3 separate regions of the Homo sapiens genome follow, and regions 2 and 3 are each linked to region 1. Evidence: promoter capture Hi-C in 16 types of primary human blood cells and fetal thymus (Javierre and others, 2016). All regions are on one chromosome and are shown on one strand. Each heading gives the region's core, a stretch centred on a gene start or on the middle of the fragment in contact. The rest is flanking DNA. Distances are from core to core; before and after follow the strand shown.

Region 1 (2,731 bases), core at 1-2,500:
CCCTAGCCAGGAGGCGGACCGTTGATAAACATCCCAACTTTGTCACATACCTAGGAGTTGCTAGTGAGAGGGACCGCGATGTATTAAGTTAGGGAAATTATCGGATCTTACCATCTCCAGTTTCTGACTTAAAAGTCACAAACAGACAAGCAGTGGGCCAGGTAGCACTGAACACCTAAGACCAATAAAGTTAGCTCTCCCAAAGCTAAATCAGAATACGCCGAAAAGCAAGCTAAGGTTAACACCCTCCAGCAGGCAAAGCGGGGCCCCAAACACATTCTATGGTTGGGAAAGGGTCATTACCGTCGGTTGCAGGTCGCTTCCTTATTCCTGCGCATTGCTCCGCTAACCCCGTCTGGCTGTCCGACGGATCAGTCTTTGGGTCCACCAAATGCGTGTCCTCAGAGTTAGCCGGAGCCCCAATTAAAGGCGCCGCCGGGCGGCTCCCGCTGACATCCTGGCTCTCCTGCGCCGGCACCTTGCAGGCACCTTTGGGGGGCCGCGGGGGTCTGTAGTAGAACTCGGGCAAGCTGCCCTTCTCCACCTCTTGCCACTCGTACTTGCCCTCTAGGGGTTTGTGATTCTGAAAATCGAAATTCCACTTGCGCTGGCTCGCCTCTTCCATGTCTCTGCAGTGCTTCTCCAAGTCCCGGGTTAACTCTTCGTGGTCCACCGGGCCGAAGAGGTTCCTGCAGGCCGAGGGCTTGGGGTGCTCCGCCTGCCTGGCGTCCATCCGCTCCAGGCTAGGGCTCCCGTTAGACACTCGCACGTTTGACATCTTTCTCCCGGGTCTGCACGACCGCCTCTCTCGCACTCTCAAAAAAACAAAACCGAACAAAACAAAGCGCCCCTACGCAGCCCGAACCCCTCTCGGAAGCCCAGCGACTGCCCTCGGAGCCAAAAGACACAGACCCCGACGAGCCACGGCCCGAGCTCTAGGAGCGCGCAGGGGCTGCGGGGAAGCCCCGGCCCGGCCGCCGAGTCTCCGCTGATCAAATGGACTGGCGAGCGGGAGGGCGGAGAGGAGAGGGGACCAGGCAAGCGGAGAGGGTGGCAAAGCCCGTCCGAGTCTGGGCGGGTGCAAGCCCGCGGGTCCCGCGAACCCAGCCGCTCTCCAAACCTTGCCGGCGTCGGAGTCGCAGAGCCGTGAGCAAGCGGGGACAGGGGAGGGGGAGAAAAACACCCCGAAAAGACGAGCCCCCTTTTTTTAGTGGCCCAATATGGCGGTGGAAGGGAGGCTGACGAAGAAGAAAATGATTGACACGGCGAGTCTATTTAAACAGAGGAGGAGATCCATTGGTTGCGGCGGCGGGAGCCGCCCCGCCGAGGCTGGCGAGCGCGGCCTTAAGGTGGCCCCGGCGCGGTTCCGCCACCTCCCCTCGTTCCCGAGCGCGCCGCCTCCCCGAGCGCCGCCGGGAGATTGGCTGGTCGCGTGACTGCTGGAGGGGTACTGCTGCCAACAAACCTGCTCTGGCTGGCCTCGGAGAAATTAAAATTAAGACAAACAAACTAGCCAAACGGCCGGGAACCTGGGGCGGGGCCTGAGGTTCGGGGCCCGGCGCTGCGTTGGCGGGTTCGCCGCGGCGCCTAAGCCCCGACCTCCCTCCCGCTCCTCGCCCGGGAAGCCGGGACCTGGACCAGAGGACCGCGAAGGTCGCCGGCAGCTCGCTAGGAGCCGGGGTGGCGAGCTGCCCCCAGCTCGGCCCTCCCCAGCGGCCCCCACCTCGTGGTCTGCGGGGGAGGCCGCGGAGCGTTTGCTGGGGGGGCTGGGCGCCCCCCCGCCGGCGTGCCTTTGCTGGGGGCTGGTGGAGGCAGTGGGCAATGGTTCGCTCAGCCTTAACCCAGAAGTTTCTGCCATCCCTGGGGAGGCTGGGGGCCTAGGGAAGAAGCCAAAGCGAACGTCTTTCTTTTAGAAATTAGCCAGGAGTAGACGCGGCACTTATCATGAACTCAAGCTCTCCCTCAATGAAAATAAGAAAGGAACTCAAGATTAAAAAAAAAAAACAAAAAACTCTAGTCTCTCAAGTCCCTTAATAAACTTTGTAGCTGTCTCAGACACGTTTAGTTTTGAAAAACGAGGGTACACCCCTGGCCCAGGATCTTCCTTCCCAAGCACAGTTAAGGCCATGGACATTGGCTGCGTGTGGGAACTCGTCCCTTTCTACTTTTCTGTTCTTTCCCGGGATTGTAGCAGTTTCCTCTACCTGAGTCCAGCCGCCAAATACAACAGCTCCTTCCTTCCTCCACCCTTCTCTCTCACCAGATTTCACTGCTCCAACAAACTCAGAACAATATTCAGATGCTAGTGAATGCTTTCAGAGGGCTGAAGGGTGAAAATACTCCCCTCGGGGTCAAACTCCAGATGATGAAATGATTTTTAAAACACCACAACCATGTCCTAACGTCCGATACTAGTATTCCAGCGTTTCTCTTCTCCCTTTTGCAGCTGGAAATTTCTCTCTCAGTGTGGGCTTGAGCACCGTGGTGGAAGGTAAAGTAGGACGATGAGCAGGGCTGCCCTGAGACAAAGCTCAGTGGATCTTCAACTGCCTCCCCACCCCCATGCCCGGTACCCATCATCTTGGTTTGAGCCAAAGTTAATGCATTTTACTGGAAACCAACCTTCCGTTCTAATATTACACAGCAGCAAAGTTTTCTTAAGCACCTATGCTACAGATGAGCTTGATGTGTAGCTTGTTTTCTTAGCCACATCTTGTCCACTTTGTGTGCC
Region 2 (2,731 bases), core at 163-2,662, 3.1 Mb after region 1:
TTACCCTTTTAAGGCTCAGTTTCCCTAAGCAGTCAAAGCCTAATAAAGACACCATGAAGCACTGGGAATTATCTTGGTAAAACACAGAATCTTTGTTTTCTAGGCCAGTGACCTTGATCAGGGGAATACATTTAATAACAACATAGGAAATCCTAGTAACAAAACAATTTTGACACATTAAGAAAAAACAACAATATAGAATCAAGTTTTGCTGAAGTAAAATGTTGCCTTTCTAGACCTTTAAGATAAATCCCAAACCAGGACTAGACAGTTCTCAGGAAGGAATGTGGCAGAAATAGGAATTAGTTTGTAATTCAGAATGGCTGTTAAGGAAACATTGCAGAATTAAAAATCAAAGCCTCTTGTAATCTTACTAAGAACAAATCAATATTTTAAGAGACTCATATTGTTTTAATGTAGGAGACCAAAATTTAAGTTTTGTATCAGTGCATCTTAACATCAAAGTTCCATTTTTTCCAACTTTTATTTTAGATGTAGGGGATACATGTGCAGGTCTGTTACTTGCAGTTTTTCCAGGGGCATGGTGGAAGCTGCTGCTGATTCCACCATTCTGGAGTCTGGAGGATGGTGGCCCTCTTCTCACAGCTCTACTAGGTAGTATCCCAGTGGGGACATAACTGGCAACTGTAGACATAATTGTTTGGCTTGCTACAAATCCATTTTCTGTTCATGTAGATTCTGCCACTGTTGACTCCATTGTCATTCAGGAAGGCACATTCTCCACTTCCTCTGATAGCAAGCCTAAATCCAAACACAAAAATATTAAATATTTGTAAGTTAGACACCTGCATTTGTTCCTCCCCATCATCTTCTGCAACCCCTCCATATTTCAATGTGAATAAGAGAAAAGCAAAAGTCTGTCATTAATATTGCTTCATAGTAATATAAACCATTTCTGTATTTAGTGTCCTTTATGTCCTCAAGGTCCTTGCTTGAAAATCACAAGCTTATCATTCATCCATACCAAGCCCAGCTATGTTGATAGGTATTTAACTGATGCTTGCTGCTGTACCCAAATGAACTGCTGCCATTGGTGGTCTTCAGTCAAGATGATTTCCAGCCTCCTCCCAAATTGTTTTGTAAATGTGTGAAAACTAAAAAAAAAAAAAAAACTAGTAAATTCCTGAAAGGGCTTAGCTTTGATTAATGGATATGACTGGGTTCCTACATTTTATCTGCTGCAATGTAATGATTATATTCAAAATACCCCTTTGAAATGTTCACAGTCCAAGGAACTGTTACTAGTTTCCTTCTGGTGATAAAGCTTTAGGAGGGAGAGATTCCCATGAGTTCCCTGGATGCTTTCCTATTGTAAATGGATGCAACACCTGCAAGAGTGGGCTTAACAGCCTTGTGGATATCAGCTCCTCAGTGGCTTCCTATGATTGTAGAACCTTTGTTGCACATCAGCTATAAGTAGGGATTTCAGCAGTTTTAAATCAGTGGATGAAAGTGTAAAATTGTGAGAAATGTCACTGTCACATTAAAGACTTCAACTGAAATCACAGGTAAAGCTTTCCCAAAGACACAGCTAACCAACTGAAGAGCATAAAAAGGGTTTAGATTTCTTACCTCATATTGCAGTAAGTTTTCCATGATACTACATTTCTTATCTCATAAACACAACTCACACACATAACCATACATAAACACAGCAAAAGATGAGAAGTCTCAAAACATACATGTTATTATATTCCATGTTGTCTGTCCATTTCCAAATGCGATGGGATGATTCTCTTCTAAGGCCAATCCAATGGTCAGAAGGGCCTTTGTATCTTTTCAGGAAATTCTATAATAAAACAGAAACTAACACCATGAGCCCCTTTCTTTCATATTACTCTGGAGTCTCTCTTCCCTATCCCTTCTCTTTTTCACTGGCAGCGTGGTATAATTAAGCAGCATAAATTCTGGAGTGAGACTAATTCCCAGTTCTCAGTTTAAGTCATTTAACGTCTCTGATCCTAAATTACTTTATTTAAAGTGAGCATAAATCCCAGTTTCATTGGGAAATTCTCAGTTTATGCTTGTCATTCCACCAATGTATTAATGATCACTTTTAATGCCCTATATGTCTTAATCTAGATGACAAATTATATAATTACCTTACTTCTTAATAGAATGAGAACAATACATCTCATCTTACCAGCTCACCATGAGCATTACATGGGGAAATATATCTAAAATGTCTCACAGGGTTCCAGGCAGAGAACACACCCTCAACAAATGTTAGACATGAAAACACATCTCATGCCCCTGGAATGGGATCCTTCTTAGTATTTCAGCTTTAACCCTATGTAGCCGACCTGCCTCAGGGGGCTAAGTATTTAACAGAAAACATGATCCAAAAATATCTCTTACCAGTTCCTCCATAGTTGCAAACTGAGCAAGGCTGGCTTCTAATGAGACACAGAACGTTTGACTCAATGTCTAATTTCTTATGCCTTCAGAAAAATAAAAACATTTACTCCTAAATCTAATTCAGCTTTTTGGGCAAGCAGCGTATTTAGATGACTCTACCACTGGCTTTTCCTTTCTTGCTAAAAGTGAGACAATCACAATGAAACATAATAAAGAAATTTTCTCACCCATTTTATCTATTTTTCTGCTTACCTTCCTGAGGTCAATTTTGAAGTGTACATATCTGATTGTTGTTTTCCTAACTCATCACAAAGTGCCTTATCCTAAGCACAACAATCGTCAGTCCGGTGGT
Region 3 (2,731 bases), core at 162-2,661, 3.0 Mb after region 1:
GGAAAGGCTGAAATTCACCAACATTAACCAAAATTTATCATCCTCTTTATCAAACTCTTCCCTTGATGCTTCCAGTGTTTAACTAGACTCGAGAATTCCAAAATAGTTACTTCAGACAGTTTTTGACAGTTCAATAGTTTTCTCAGTGGAGGAACAGATTTCTGTAGCTTTTTAGTCTACCAACCTCTATGACATCATTCTTGCTTGACTTATTGTTTTTATTTTATTATTTTTTTGAGATAGAGTCTCACTCTGTTAGGCTGGAGTACAGTAGCATGATTTCAGCTAACTGTAGGCCTCCACCTCCCAGGTTCAAGCAATTCTGCTGCCTCAGCCTCCTGAGTAGCTGGAACTACAGGCGTATGCCACCATGCCCAGCTAATTTTTGTATTTTTTAGTTGAGATGGGGTTTCACCATGTTGGCCAGGCTGATCTCAAACTCCTGACCTCAAGTGATACACCCGCCTTGGCCTCCCAAAGTGCTGGGATTACAGGCATGTGCCACTGCTCTTGGCCTTGTTTGATTTATTTTGAAACAATGTTGCTAACTTCATACAAACTTAAAACTGGGTTTCTACCAATACTTTTCTAATCCTTATTTGCACAATTCTGGCTCACAAGTCAAAGAAGGCTCTGGCTTGCTTGCCCTCTGGGCCTGTTCCTGCCACGAATATTAAGGTAATTTTAGATGGTTCACTGTAAAATATAATACATGCTAGGTTACTCTTTCGTTATGCAAAAAAAAAAAAAAAAAAAAAAAATCAATGTAAAAGCAGATGTCTAAACCTACCTCTTAGATAATTTCACAGGAAAACATATCCTTGTAGGGCTGAATCTTTGATTCTGGCCAGAACTATTTTCTTACCAGTTCCTGGAAGCTTTCAACCTGAGCAAGATCAGCATCTTGTGAGTCACAAAACCTCTGACTTGATGTCCAGTTCTTGGTGTCATCAGAAAAATAGAAACACTTTCTTTGAAAACCAATCCAGCTTTCTGGGCATGCAGCTTGAAGACATACTGATGGCTCTTGATGGCAGTTAGCTCTTATTGCTGAAAATAAAATAAAAATAAATAAAATAAAAATTTCTTACTTTTATATTGTATTGTATAAATTACCAAGTGCTAATATACTTTCTGACACTCCTGTTAAGTATTAAATGTATTATTTTCATTTTTCAAGTGAGAAATATGATGCTAAATATAATTGCATACATTACACAGCAAATGGCAAAACTGAGATTCAAACTCATGCCTTCAGCAGGGGGTGAGCTGAAAAAGGAGTTATTAGTAACTTAAGCTTGCTCTGGGCCATGTATCTATTTGGCTCTCAACAGTGTTACCCTTTCTTAAAATATTAGATACATTAATGATAGCATTTGATCAGCTTTGGAGAACAGATAGTTCTCCAAGTGCTCTAGATTAGGGGTCCCCAACCCCTAGGCCATGGATCAGTACTGGTCCATGGATGAGTCAGGAAGCAGGCTGCACAGCAGGAGGTAAGCAGCGAATGAGTAAGTGAAGCTTCATCTGTATTTACAGCCACTCCCCATCACTCACATTACCTCATGAGCTCCACCTCCTGTCAGATCAGCAGTGGCATTAGATTCTCATAGGAGGGCAAACCCTATTGGGAACTTCTCATGTGAGGAATCTAGGTTGTGGGCTCCTTGTGAGAATCTAATACCTGATGAACTGTCACTGTCTCCCATCACTCACAGATGGTACCATCTACTTTCAGAAAAACTAGCTCAGGGTTCCCACTGATTCTACATTATGGTGAGTTGTATAATTATTTTATTATATATTATTACACAATGTAATAATAATGGAAATAAAGGGCACAATAAAAGTAATGCACTTAAATTATCCCCAAACCATTCCTTGACCCCAGTCCATGAAAACGTTGTCTTTCACAAAACTGGTCCCTCATGCCAACAAGGTTGGCGATTGCTGCTCCAGATGACTTGGTAAAATGAAGGGCAGGATAGAGATGCCTTATGTGAATAAGGTTTCTTGATGTGAAAAAGCCTTGTATATGTCTAAATACTATCATAAATATGAAATAAGTTGTTGTACAGTGAACTTCCTTCCACTAAGGAGATTTAGTGAGGTTTTCTACACTTTGAAGGCAGCAATACTTCACTGGACAGGCTTTTCTGACCCACTTCTTATATAATCAGGAGAAATGCTCTCTTCATGTGGGATCGAGATGAATGAATGTCTCTCCAGATAGTTGTCACTGAGCCCCTAGTAGCTACCAGTTCATCTTCTATTATATAACCACCTTCTACCTTCAACTCAATGGTTCTGAAAGTGTCTATGATAGACCAGAATGCTGGGTATTCATAGAATCATTACTATCAATTGGCACCATTATCCTTGGATTTGGCTCTTGTGAGATGAGAAATCACTCTTAGTTATGAATAATAACTGGTGTAATCTGAATAACAAATCATAACATGAGGCAAACGTGTATTGTATCTGGTTTGGTATCACAAACAAGGTGATACCAAATTATAACTATTAAAATGTAATTTCTTGAACCAGACCATAATGCAGGATGACTTTCCCCAAATCTGTGCATATTTGTTGTGCTATCACTGCTCCTGTATCAACCAATTTAAAGAAAACGACCAGACCAGAGAGGGCAAGATGGCTGATTAGAAACAGCTCTGGTCTGCAGTTCCCAGTGAGACCAATGCAGAAGGCAGGTGATTTCTGCATTTCCAAC

What was found. The method cuts DNA at HindIII sites, captures the fragments that hold promoters and counts their contacts. A CHiCAGO score of 5 or more calls a contact.
Region 2: a fragment that was not itself captured here is called in contact with the fragment with the promoter of CDKN1B in region 1 in 1 of 17 cell types (non-activated CD4 T cells); the score reaches 9.3 in non-activated CD4 T cells.
Region 3: a contact is called between a fragment that was not itself captured here and the fragment with the promoter of CDKN1B in region 1, in 1 of 17 cell types (non-activated CD4 T cells). The highest score is 5.3, in non-activated CD4 T cells.

The regions. Positions count from the first base shown.
Region 1 is chr12:12,715,887-12,718,617 of GRCh38, reverse strand. CDKN1B (cyclin dependent kinase inhibitor 1B) reads right to left here and starts at 1,250. Exons shown (of 3, transcript NM_004064.5): 1 at 304-1,250. The coding sequence starts at 778. It also overlaps a transcript of GPR19 not described here. RefSeq lists silencers at 684-872, 1,297-1,866 and enhancers at 1,047-1,146, 1,227-1,276. The HindIII fragment of the contact is 7,251 bases long and covers 1-2,731 here.
Region 2 is chr12:9,654,952-9,657,682 of GRCh38, reverse strand. It overlaps the pseudogene LOC374443. Among named protein-coding and RNA genes, the nearest start is that of CLEC2D, 13 kb to the left of the region's middle. The HindIII fragment of the contact is 250 bases long and covers 1,288-1,537 here.
Region 3 is chr12:9,686,221-9,688,951 of GRCh38, reverse strand. It overlaps CLEC2D (C-type lectin domain family 2 member D), which reads right to left. Exons shown (of 5, transcript NM_013269.6): 3 at 866-1,050. Among named protein-coding and RNA genes, the nearest start is that of LINC02390, 16 kb to the left of the region's middle. The HindIII fragment of the contact is 224 bases long and covers 1,300-1,523 here.